Regions from separate parts of the Homo sapiens genome. Here region 1 is linked to region 2. Evidence: promoter capture Hi-C in human tissues and cell types (Jung and others, 2019). All regions are on one chromosome and are shown on one strand. Each heading gives the region's core, a stretch centred on a gene start or on the middle of the fragment in contact. The rest is flanking DNA. Distances are from core to core; before and after follow the strand shown. Region 1 overlaps SHISA6 (shisa family member 6). Region 2 holds the start of DNAH9 (dynein axonemal heavy chain 9).

Region 1 (5,844 bases), core at 65-2,564, 64 kb after region 2:
CTATCATAGCTATCCCTGCATCTACCCAGTAATGCTATGAGTGTACCTGACATACTATCATAGCTCCCTTAAGTAGTGAAATTTTCTGTGATCTAGGTCTGTGTTTAACTTTCACATTTGTTCTTCCCATTATAATACCAACTGGAAGAAATTCTGACTCTGGTGCCTGGCCCAAGAATCCACACATATTGCCATCCCTATCAGTGGAGCTTTATTTATCACGTTTGGGAAAAGACTCTGTCTCACTTTCTCTCTCTATATATATCTATCTATCTATCTGTATATATAGATATAAATATCTCTATATATCTATATATGTCTATATGTGTATATATATGTGTACATATGTATATAGATATATACACACACACCACACACACACACACACACACATTGTTTTCCCATCAGCTACTGTTGTTTTGTTGGACATTGTTTGAAGTAATTTGGAAATATCATGCCATTGAACCTCACAACAAGTCTGTGAGCTCATTTACATTTTATAGATGACATTGAGTTGCCCAAGGAGGTCACGCAAAAAATAAGTAGCTGAACCTGAATTCAAATTCACATCTAATAACTCCAAACACGATGCTCTTGATCTCTGCACTATAATGTGGTTTTGCCAGAACGTGCAAATACAGACTCATCTGTTGAGCTGGACAGGGTTTCTAGTGGGATCTAGGTTTGCACACTGGTAATAAATGGCTGATTCTTGGACAAAGGTTCACACTGCTTCTAATCTAGAAATCTGTTCTTACACTCACCCTAAAAACCCCCTAAGGAGTCTGCCTCTGACTCAGCCCGGAGCAATGTAGCTATTCTTTGTCCTTGCATCTCCCTGCTGACAGCATTCTTGTAGCTTCACATTGTAGCCCTTCTTTTCCTTCACCTAAAGGCCATCATCCTATTGGAACATGCAGCCTGGCAGAAACCAGCCACACTGCTGGGGAAGTTGGTTAGACACACAAGACCAGGAGTTGGGCAATGAGTGCTCTTTTTCTGGGAATCTCCATGCATAGCACTGCTTCCAGGTGATGACTCCTGGCCGTATGGACATGGATGAACATGCCAGGGGTCCTCTGCCATCTTATACCTGCTTTCCTGCACCATAGCCTTCTTTTATTTCTATTTTATTTTATTTTTTTTGAGATGGAGTCTCGCTTTGTTGCCAGGCTGGAGTGCAGTGGTGCGCTCTTGGCTCACCCTCACCGCAACCTCTGCCTCCTGGGTTCAAGCAATCCTCCTGCTTCAGCCTCCCGAGTAGCTGGGGTTACAGGTGCCTGCCACCACGCATGGCTAATTTTTGTATTTTTAGTAGAGATGGGGTTTCACCATGTTGGCCAGGATGGTCTCAATCTCTTGACCTCGTGATCCACCCTCCTTGGCCTCCCAAAGTGCTGGGATTACAGCCATGTGCCACCGCTCCTGGCCCGTAGCCTTCCTAGAATAGTCTCAGCACACAACCCCTTATTGATCTTTCCACTGAGTTCCTTTTTTATGCTGTCATCACTTTTCTGAATCTTGTTTCTGTCTCCCTGGAATGTCTTTTCCCACATTACCACTTGTTCAATTTTTATTCATCCTTCAAGGCCCTCTAAAACAACACCTTATCCATGGCAGCTTTCTCCAATTCCTTCAGCTGCAGGTAATCTTTCTTTACTGTGAACTCTCCTCTGCTCTGTCATTTCTTGGGGGTGCTTACCACTTTCTACATTGTGTTATAATTACATATGTACATGCCTTGTGTCTTCTAACACACTAATTTCTTGATGATGGCAGGTGATGAAAAATTCATCTTTTTGCTTCCCAAGGAGTCTAACATAGCCCTTCCACTCAACATGCATCCATTGAGTGGATAAATATGGCCATTATGCCGGGCACTTGGGGAGATATGAAGGCAGATCTGACACAGTGCAACTTGCTCATAGTAGGTGCTCAATTGCTCAATAAATATTTCAAAATGTTAGAATAGGCCGGGCGCAGTGACTCATGCCTGTATAATTCTAGCACTTTGGGAGGCCAAGGTGGGCGGATCACTTGAAGTCAGAAGTTCAAGACCAGCCTGGTCAACATGGTGAAAACCTGTCTCTACTAAAAATACAAAAAAAAAAAAAAAAAAAAGAAAAAAAAGATTAGCAAGGCATGGTGGCAGGCGCCTGTAATCCCAGCTATTTGGGAAGCTGAAGCAGGAGGAGAATCGCTTGAACCCGGGAGAGGAGGTTGTGGTGAGCTGAGATTGCACCATTGCACTCCAGCCAGGGCAACAAGAGTGAAACTCCATCTCAAAAAACAAAAACAAACAAAAAAAAGTTAGAATAAATACTAGTCTGTGTAATTGCAGAGAGTACATAAAATATTTTGAAGATTTTAATAGAGTAAGAATAATGAGGCTGGGCGCGGTGGCTCACGCCTGTAATCCCAGCACTTTGGGAGGCGAGGTAGGTGGATCACGAGGTCAGTAGATCGAGATCATCCTGGCTAACACAGTGAAACCCCGTCTCTACTAAAAATACAAAAAATTAGCCAGGCATGGTGGCAGGTGCCTGTAGTCCCAGCTACTTGGGAGGCTGAGGCAGGAGAATGGCGTGAACCCGGGAGGCAGAGCTGGCAGTCAGCCGAGATGGTGCCAGTGCACTCCAGGCTGGGAGACAGAGCGAGACTCCATCTCAAAAAAAAAAAAAAAAAAAAAAATAATGAAAGGGAAGCTTCAAAAAGAAAGTAAATCTTGAATGCAGCTATAAAGGAGACTTGATTTTGGACGGTGGGGAGAGAGGCCAGGGGAGGTGACTTCTTTCACAGAAAGAAAGGCCAAGAATAAAACGTGAGAGAATGGGGCCTGAGTCATAGAGGGTTGGTAGGAGTGCAGATGAGAGACGGTAGAATGAGGTTAGATTATGGCACTTTAACGCCAAATTGACTTTGACTTTATCCTGAAAGGCTGTTGACGGCATGGCAAGGGTCTTGTTTTCTAAGAATTAACCAGTAGGAAGAATTGGAGTGAAGAAGGGAAATGCGTTGACAAGCTACTATAGAAATGCAAGTGGGAGGTAACGGCAGCTGAATCAGCTCTGAGGTCTCCATAACTTATGGTGTTTGTGGCTAATGAGCAAAGGGCCAGGTAGAAGAAGCAAAGAGGGCTGATAATGAAGATTTGATTCCATTTCTTTTCATCAGAGGACTCATTCCTGCTGGTTGTTGGATACAGCATTTGTCTGAGGCATTTGGGCAGATTTCATAGCTAACAGGCACAGCTCAGCAGCAAAGGCAACACAACCCAAAGTGGCTGTTTACACTCACGCAGTCTGCCAGATCCCTGAGAAGTTCTCTGGGAGTGGAAAGGGAGGAAACTGGATGTGGTGTCTTGCACCAACACGCCTATTTCCAGGTAACCATATGCCCAGTGGAAAGGATGTGGAGCTCCCTTTGCTAATCCTCAGGGAGACCCTGGAGATCACTGTGTGCTGAGAGGTGGAATATGTGTCATGAGGAAGCCTGCAGGAGCTGGAATGAAATGAAAAAAAAAAAAAAAAAAAAAAAAAGCCCTGATAGAATGGGGAAAGGCATGGGCTCCTGCTTTGGGAGGCTTGGGCCTTAGACTGCATTCAATTCAGAACTCTAATTCCAAGACTATAGCAAAATCCCTGTCTGTAGCTAACTTGATCTGAGAATTGTGTATGCTTAAACTGAAACGCTCACTGGAGGGGAGGATGTGGGATCATAGGAAAATGTTCCAAAAAAGGAATCTGGGGGAAAGGCATTTACACACATACGCGCGTGCGCGCACACACACACACGCGCGCGCACAGCCTATTTTGCTTTCTCCCCTTTTGGTTGGACACTCTGAGAGAGATAAGGAAGGGAAAGAAACAAGGATCTATGCTCCCTGGGCACCAGGCACCAACGTCTCAGAGCTCACACATGCTCTTTCTGATACCCACTGTTAACACTTTGCTGCCTCATCAGACACTCCTTCTCCATGTCTTGGCTGGGAGTGGAATATGGTATACGTGGCTTGATCTGCCTGCTGTCCCCTAGGGAAGATCCCGGTGCCTATTTCTTCCCTAATTCTTGCACCACTTACACCGCAGTTCAGAGCCATCGGCTGGCGCTGGTCAAGTGACAACATGTGTCACTCCAAACTTCTCCTGCTTCAATTTTCTCTCCACCCTATGAAATTTTCTGTTCTACATCATTATCTTCTGTCATCTGACTTCTGACTGAATTTCTTCTCACATCTCCTAGTTTTTCATATTTCCTCTGCGTGGATTTCATGAGGCATTTTATTTTACAAATTTTATTTGTATTTGACAAATAATAAACTGGATATATTTATTTGGCACAAAGTGTTTTGATACATGTGTACATTGTGGAATGATTAAATCAAGCTAATTAACCTATCCATCACCTCATATATGCATCAATACTGTGTGTTGAGAACATTTAAAATCTAATCTTTAAGCAATTTTGAAATATACAATGCATGGCTGTTAATTATAGTCACGATTCTGTGCAGTGGATCACTAAAGCTTATTCCTCCCGTCTAAGGCATTGCTTCTGAATCCATGCATGGAGCCACTGATTACTGTCAATGTTATAAATGTGAAGGACTCGATAAACTTTAGGGGCCAACTAGGTTCTTTACATATATTGCTGTATTTAATCTTTATAGCAACTCTAAGAGGTAGAAACTAGTAGTAGCCCCATTTTATAGGTGAGAAAACTAAGGCATGGTGCAGTGGCCTGTCCAGGTCACACAGCTGTGGGTACTGGCTGTGCGTAATGATGAACCAGACAGACCAACAGAAGAGCTGCCATCCTAACCCTCACTAACCGTATCTGAGCTGTTTCTTTGTTTATCAGTACTAATTCCAAGACTGTGGAAAACCCCCATCTGTAGCTAACCTGCTCTGAGAATCGTGTGTTTAAACTGAAATGCTCATCAGGGGGAGGACAATGGCATCATAGAAAAATGTCCCAAAAAAGTAATTTGGGGGAAAGACATTTACACACTTACACACACACACACACACACACACACACACACACACACACACACACACACACACAGAGTAGTAACCTGTCCAGCTCACACAGCTATGGGTAATGGCACCAGCTGATGACCCAGACCGACTGGCCACAGAGCCACCATATTAACCCTCACTAACGGTATCTGAGCTGTTTCTTTGTTTATCAATACTGCACAGTTGACCTTGTCTTGGTGGCATTCTACTCAAATCAGTTTCAAAGACAACTGAAAAAACTTTATTGGTCCACTGGGAATCCTATCCCTACGAATACTGCAGTAACCTACCAAACATCAGCTGATACTGCCTATGGGGAAGAAAGAACAATTAAGAAGTTCACCATTTGCCGTGCAGTTCCATCCATGGTGAAGAAAGTTAGCTTGTTAGCGTGAGAAACGTCGGCCATCATTACAGAGGTCAGCTGCCTCGCTCTGAAACATATGCTAGCTTTGTTTGTGAAAAATTTACACACTGTGCCTTCTTTTCCTCATGAGTATGGAAAACCTTCCACAAAGAAGAACATCTTAAATAAACGACTAACCTTGACAACAGACATGTCAGGGATGCTGCTAGAACTTTATAACATGGTGTTCTGAGACATTCCTTCAACTGTGATCAAGCGGGGGATGTCTGAAGGAAGCATGCCATTTCTCTGCTCATGTGCTGGGCTTCTGGGAGCAGCTGAGTATCTCTGTGTCCTCGCTAAAAACAACTCTGGCTGTTGCTGGTTTTAATGTCTAAAAACTCTATAGTTAACATGTATAATTGTTGAAAAACCAGAAAGTAAAATTGAACAAAAAAGAAGTGTGTGTGTATTTTT
Region 2 (6,177 bases), core at 552-3,051:
TGTCTTTCTCCTCTGAAGCCAAAAGTACTTTCTATCGTCAACATTCATTAGAGAAGCTGATCTAAGTTCAGGCTTCAGCGGGATGGCTTTCAGACAATGCACAGTTGCAAGACCATTCTGTTTGTTAAAATATTGAAATACCTCCATATCTAAGAGATCTAGCTTCCTGGGCCCTCTGTGTCCTCCTCTATCTATCCAACCCTTTCCCTGGAATTTTCACCTCCCCACAGCCTCCTGATACACCATCTAAAGGGCTTACACTTGACATAGCAGGGAGACTCCAGGACTTGCATCCAGCAGTGGGGCCAACTTTTAGGTAAGCTTTACCCTCACCCCAGTCTTAAAAGTTTGAAACATTTTGAATATATGAATTATTACATACGTTTCAGCTCCTTGGAGTAAGCATTTCATGGGTGGGAATAGTTCTTTGGTATTCCCTATAGCACCTATCACCTGAACCATCATACAGCCAGTATTCTGCCCATCCTTATTTCACAACCTGCAGGGTCCAGGGCATCAAGCCTCCATAAGCACACAGCCTGACTTGCAGGGCAGTTTACTCCCATTCCAGAAAGGTCTAAGGGGCCCAGGAATCTCTCTGGAGCACTTCCCTGAAATCTCCTGCATTCTCGAAGCTTCTGCTGTGGTGCCACTAAAGCACTCATGACCCACATCTCCACCTTCCTCCCTGAGCTTCAGGCAGACTCCTCCAAAGGCCTGCTGGGCATTTCCAAATGGGAGCCCAACTTCTTATGCTGGCACAGGGCTGACCTTTGCTAAATGGTTGGTAATGAATGAATGAGATGAAAATCAAAAGCAAATCACTACCCACCTCCCCCTCCCATTTAACTGCTCTCCAGAAGTAGGCACTGTTTATAGCCATCCACCTCCTTCCACCCCACTGATCCATCAGAAATGCCGTCTTGTCCACTTCCCATCTTCTTCAGATCTTTCCAATTTACAGGAGGGATTACGAGAGGCTGATTTTGAAAGTAGTCAGAACCTAGGCACTCTTCAGATTATGGTCTTCCCCTGACTTTGGCTGGAACCCAGACCCGGACTGACCCAAGCCTCAGCTCCTTCCCATTCTCATTCTGGCCTGGCCTCCACCCAGATCCCTCCCTCCGGACCCACCCGACTCCGCCCCTAACCCCATCCCATTTTCTTCCTGACTTCAGGAACTTCCCTCCTGGTTGTGCTCCCTCCACAGCCTCGCCCCTCTGCCTATCACTCCGCCTCTTGGACCTCCCCTGCAGCTTCGCCCCGCCCCCTCTGGCCCCGCCTCCGTCCCTTAAGGCTCCTCCTCCCCTCCCCCACCCAGCTTTAGCCGCGCGGGGACACTAACCCACCCTCACCTCCGAGAACAGCGCGGCTAGGTGCTCCAGAGGTGCCGCGGGCAGGTCCCCGCAGACCACTGCGCCGCGGAAGCTGTCGGGCCCTGGAGGCTCGGGCCCGGTGCGAAGGAAAAAAAGCGCCTTAGCGCCAGCCAGGCCCGACTCAGGTCCCACCTCCAGCCCGGGGCGTATTGCCAGGCCCCTGGGCCCGGGCCGCACCACCAGCAGCGGCCGCGGCCCCTCGGCAGCATCGCGGCCCAGGAAGGCCTGGAGCAGCTGCTCCGCCTCAGCACTCCCCGCGCAACGCTCCCAGGCGCCCGCAGCCGGCCGCAGGCTCATGGCCACGTAGGTCCCCAGGAGTCGCAGTCGTCGGTCGGCGCCGGGTTCCCCATCCGCGTTCTCCGCCGCGAGCGCGGCCCGCTCCTCCGCGAGCCGCATCGCGCGCGGCCTCCAGCTGCATCGGTTTCCCTAGCGACGGGGACGCGGCCAGGACTCACTCCTCTGCTCCCTTCCTATTGGGCACGGACCCCTGGTCCCGCCCCTTCCAGGCTAATAAGGTAGGAGGTGTACGCGGGAAGGGGCGGGGTCGCGTCGCTGTTGCTAGGACACCAGCCGAGACTCGTACTCAGTGTCTGCCTGGTGTATTGGGAGTGCTGAAGTGTGACCGTGGAGCGCAATGGCTTATTGATGGGCTGCGTGGAGAGGAGATCAAGCATATAAATGCTGTTAAGGATCGTTTTGGCCAAGGTCGAATTAGAGTCTTTAGAGGTCTCCAGACACTGAAAATAGTGTGGTCCTCTTACCTCTATCCTAAATGTGCAATCCAGACTTAAACACAATGCCAAATCATAAAACAGATTTAAGGACATTCAGTGAATTTTATTTCTTTTCCATGATGGCAAATTAAACACTTCAGAACAGTGCTGTCCAGTAGAACTTTCTGCGATGATGGAAATGTTTTCCATCTGTTCTAGCCACGCATGGCCTATAAAGGAGGTGAAATATGCTCGTCCCACTGAGGAAATTTTTAATTTTACTTAATTTTCACTTAAAATTAAATAGTCACATGTGACTGTAGTTATATCGAACAGCTCAGCTTCAAAATTTTAATATCAAGTTTTTTTAAGTTTTCTTCCGTGCCTTTCTTTGCCCATGTTTTTTAAGGCATGTGCTTAATCTTCTAAAAATGTAACCAAACTGTAAGAGGCTTGTTTTTGAGACAGAGTCTTACTCTGTTGCCCAGACTGGAGTGCAGTGGCCGGATCATAGTTCACCGCAGCCTCAAATCCCTGGGCTCAACTGATCCTCTGGTCTCAGATTCCCTAGGAGCTGGGAATACAGGCGCCACCACATCCAGCTAATTTTAAAAATTTTTTGTAGAGATGAGGTCTCGCTGTGTTGTCCAAACTGGTCTTGAAGTCCTGGACTCAACTGATCCTTCTGCCTCAGCCTCCCAAAGTGCTGGGATTATAAGGATGAGCCACCATGCTAGAGTTTTTGACTTCCATGGGTATGACCACTAATCAGTTCTTACTAAATGTAGCAAAGTACTTGTAAATATGCAGGATGCTCAGAACCTTCCCATCCTGCCCTATACCTGGATATTGGCTTCAAAAAGGGATAATATAAAGTGCCTTGCCTGACCTCAGAAATTAGCATTTGTTACCTGCTTAGTCCTTCTCCATGGTCAGGATAAACAGCTTGGCCCTTTGCATGCATGTAAGGTGACAGTGCATGGGTGCTGAAAAAATGGACAAACAACTTGGGCAGCATGAGGTCTGCAGGACTGAATGAGCTCCCCTCTGCCCTGCCATCCTCCCTTTAGTCACCTCCCAGGGACTGCTGAGTTTCTGGGTAAAAGGAATGTTTATAATGGGTTTCAAAGGAATATTAACAGAATAAGCACTTATCAATGGTAGCTTGGCTAACAAGAGCCCCTCGGGAAAACACCAGTGGTTGGGAAGTAAAATGATTGATTTCATAATAACTGGAGCAAAGGAGTTGCTGTAATAAAAAATGTTCATGTTAGAAATGAATCTTTATGTTTGTAAAGGGTGTTTCATCATTGCTGGATTAAACAATAATCAACCAACTATGAGGAAAGGGAAAAAGTGGGAAACTAAAACAATCTTTAGGATGAATTTGGTAACTGACATTTCAAGAAGAAGCATCAGGGAAAAATAGTAATGTCAGGGGCTTCTTACACATATCGTTTTTTGTTTATCTTTGCACATAGGAAGGCATCGTTATTGTTTTAGTGCTTAGGGACTTCAAATGTGTCAACTATGCTCATGTTTCGTATACAGAGTGACTTCAGGACCATTAACTTTCAGTAAACCCTTGAAATAAAATTTCTGCCACCGCACTGTGGCTCTATTATGCCGTTAATCTCCTATGTCCCCTTGCCCCAACATACATAAAAATAGGAACAAAGGAGTCTGTGAATATGACTTAAAGATTTCTGTGTAAGGTGAAGGCTCCTGAATATTAGCAATCCCAGTTTTTAATTTTCTCTCCAAAAAGATACCTTATCTGCATTTTAGAAGGTGATTGGTGGGAGGCATTGATATGGGATTATTGAAAACAACTGACATTTTAAAATATTGTATAATTATGACAAAAATATCCCCAAAATATATTAGTTATCTATCACTGTATAACAAATTACCCCCAAACTTATCAGCTTAAAATAGCAATAGACATTTATCTCACACAGTTTATGGGGGGGTCAGGAATTTAGGAGCTGCTTAGCTCGTAGTTATTGCACAAGGTTTCTCATGATGTTGCAGGCAAGATGTCATCAGGGGCTACATCATCTGAAGGCTTGACTGGGGCTGGAGGAGACACTTCCAAGATGGCTTACTCACATGGCTAGTTGGTTAGTGCTGGCTCTTGGCAGTAGACTTCAACTTCTTAGCATGTGGAGCCCCCATTGGGTATCTGAGTGTCTTTGTAATGCTGTGACTGTCTTCCCCCGGAAGAAGTGATCTAAGAGAGAGCAAGGCAGAAGCCTACAGTGTCTCTTATGACTAGCCTTGGAAATCACACACTGTCATTTCTGCAATTATCTTATTAGTTACAGAAGTCTTCCCTATTCAATATGAGAGGGAATTACATGAGGATGTGAATACCAGGAGACAAGAATCACTGGGTACCATCTTGGAGGCAGGCTACCACAAAAAGTAAGGGAAAGAATGAATTTGCATAAGATGTTCAGCTAAAATAATTTCCATTTTTTAAATTGGAAACTTGAACTCAGTCCCATGAGCGTAATATTTGTAGTAATCATATTTTTTGTTTTAAATGACTATGCACAATTCCTGTTTGAGACTTTTGGTCATGATCTCTTTAAATTCTGGATAGTCGCTCGTGATGAGAAATTTGTTCCCACAAGCAAGTAATATGAAAGTTAAAGCCTTTCAAAACCATTCATAAATTAGCAGTTGACATTATATTTACAGAATCTAACAGCTCTTTCTTTTCTTCCTTGACAAATGTTACATTGAAAATCTTTTATGCTGCTAATAGATACTGAATCTAACCCAATCTTTTCATATCAAATATTTCAAAATAATGATGAAGTTCTAATTCAAATAATGTGCATGAATTATTAGAATAACCTCCTTTCAGCTATCTTGGATACTATTAATGTGAACATCAGACACAAATAGGGATCTCTATGGGATCCAAGAATAGAAGGACAGTGTATGCTGCCTGTGACTCCATCCAGGAGACATGCATAAGAACATCAATGGTTGCATTGTAGCAACTGCAAAATAATGGGAAGCAAACCAAGTGTCCATCAATAGTAGAATGGATGAGTAAATTGTGTTATATACTATTCATGACGTATAATACTCTACAGCAGTAAAAATAAATAGACAGTAGTCACATGCATCAACATGGGTAAATCCTAAAAGCATAATGTTGAATAAAAATAGGAAAGTTACAGAATAATTTAGTGTTACATTTGTTAGAAGTTTTAAACTAGACAATATGTTGTAAGAGGCACACACATATGTAGTAATCTAATGAAAAGTAAAGGAATGATTATCACAAAATTCAGATTTTGATCACTCCTTGGGGGAACTAAAGAAGCATGGGATGAGTAAAGGGAACACAGGGCCCTTTTAAGTTCCTGATAAGGTTTTATTTCCTAACTTGGCTTGTGAGTTTTCATTTTGTCATTCCTCTTAAACTGTACATACATATTGTACTTATGAAGCATCTATGTTGTCTGGGGTATAGACCCTGGGGTTTGTCATTACACGCCATGAAAATTTAGGAGATGGACACACAGGAGGAGTCAGGAGCAGAGGTTTAGTAGGCAGAAGAGAAGGGAAAGAGAAACAGCTTTCTCTGTAGAGAGAGGGGGGTCTCCAAGCAAAAAGGACCAGCTGGTGGTCAATGCACCAGATTTTATAGTCAGGTTTGAGAAGGCGGTGTCTGATTTACATAGGGCACACAGATTGGTTCTATCAGGTATAATGTTTATATAGTGCAAGCGGAAGGCTGGTTGTCCTACTCTAATCTTATTATGCAAATGGACTTTTTAGTTGATTGGTGCCATCTTGTCTGTTCATTACTGTACATGTGGCTGGCAGAGAAGGGAAGATGGAGCCGCCATCTTGAACATGTCTAGTCCCTAGTTCCTGTTGGCATTCACCTGTGCAAGCTTCCAGCTTGCTTGTGTATGTCTGCAGCTGGACTTTACAGGCTGCTCTTTGTTAGAAAATGACTTGGGGCTGCTGTTCATTAAAAAGAAAAGCCTTACCGAGGACTCCCATACAATTCTGCCTAAGTAATTTCTTCGTAACTCCTGTGTCATGTGAATATATAATAT

The links. Contacts are between HindIII fragments. The study calls those that stand out against the background at their distance.
Region 1: a fragment that was not itself captured here is called in contact with the fragment with the promoter of DNAH9 in region 2 in 1 of the 25 tissues and cell types used here (heart left ventricle).

What each region holds. Positions count from the first base shown.
Region 1 is chr17:11,530,435-11,536,278 of GRCh38, reverse strand. All of the region lies in intron 3 of SHISA6 (shisa family member 6), which reads right to left. Among named protein-coding and RNA genes, the nearest start is that of DNAH9, 65 kb to the left of the region's middle. The HindIII fragment of the contact is 4,604 bases long and covers 1-3,616 here.
Region 2 is chr17:11,594,094-11,600,270 of GRCh38, reverse strand. It overlaps DNAH9 (dynein axonemal heavy chain 9), which reads right to left and starts at 1,801. Exons shown (of 69, transcript NM_001372.4): 1 at 1,356-1,801. The coding sequence starts at 1,772. The HindIII fragment of the contact is 9,113 bases long and covers 479-6,177 here.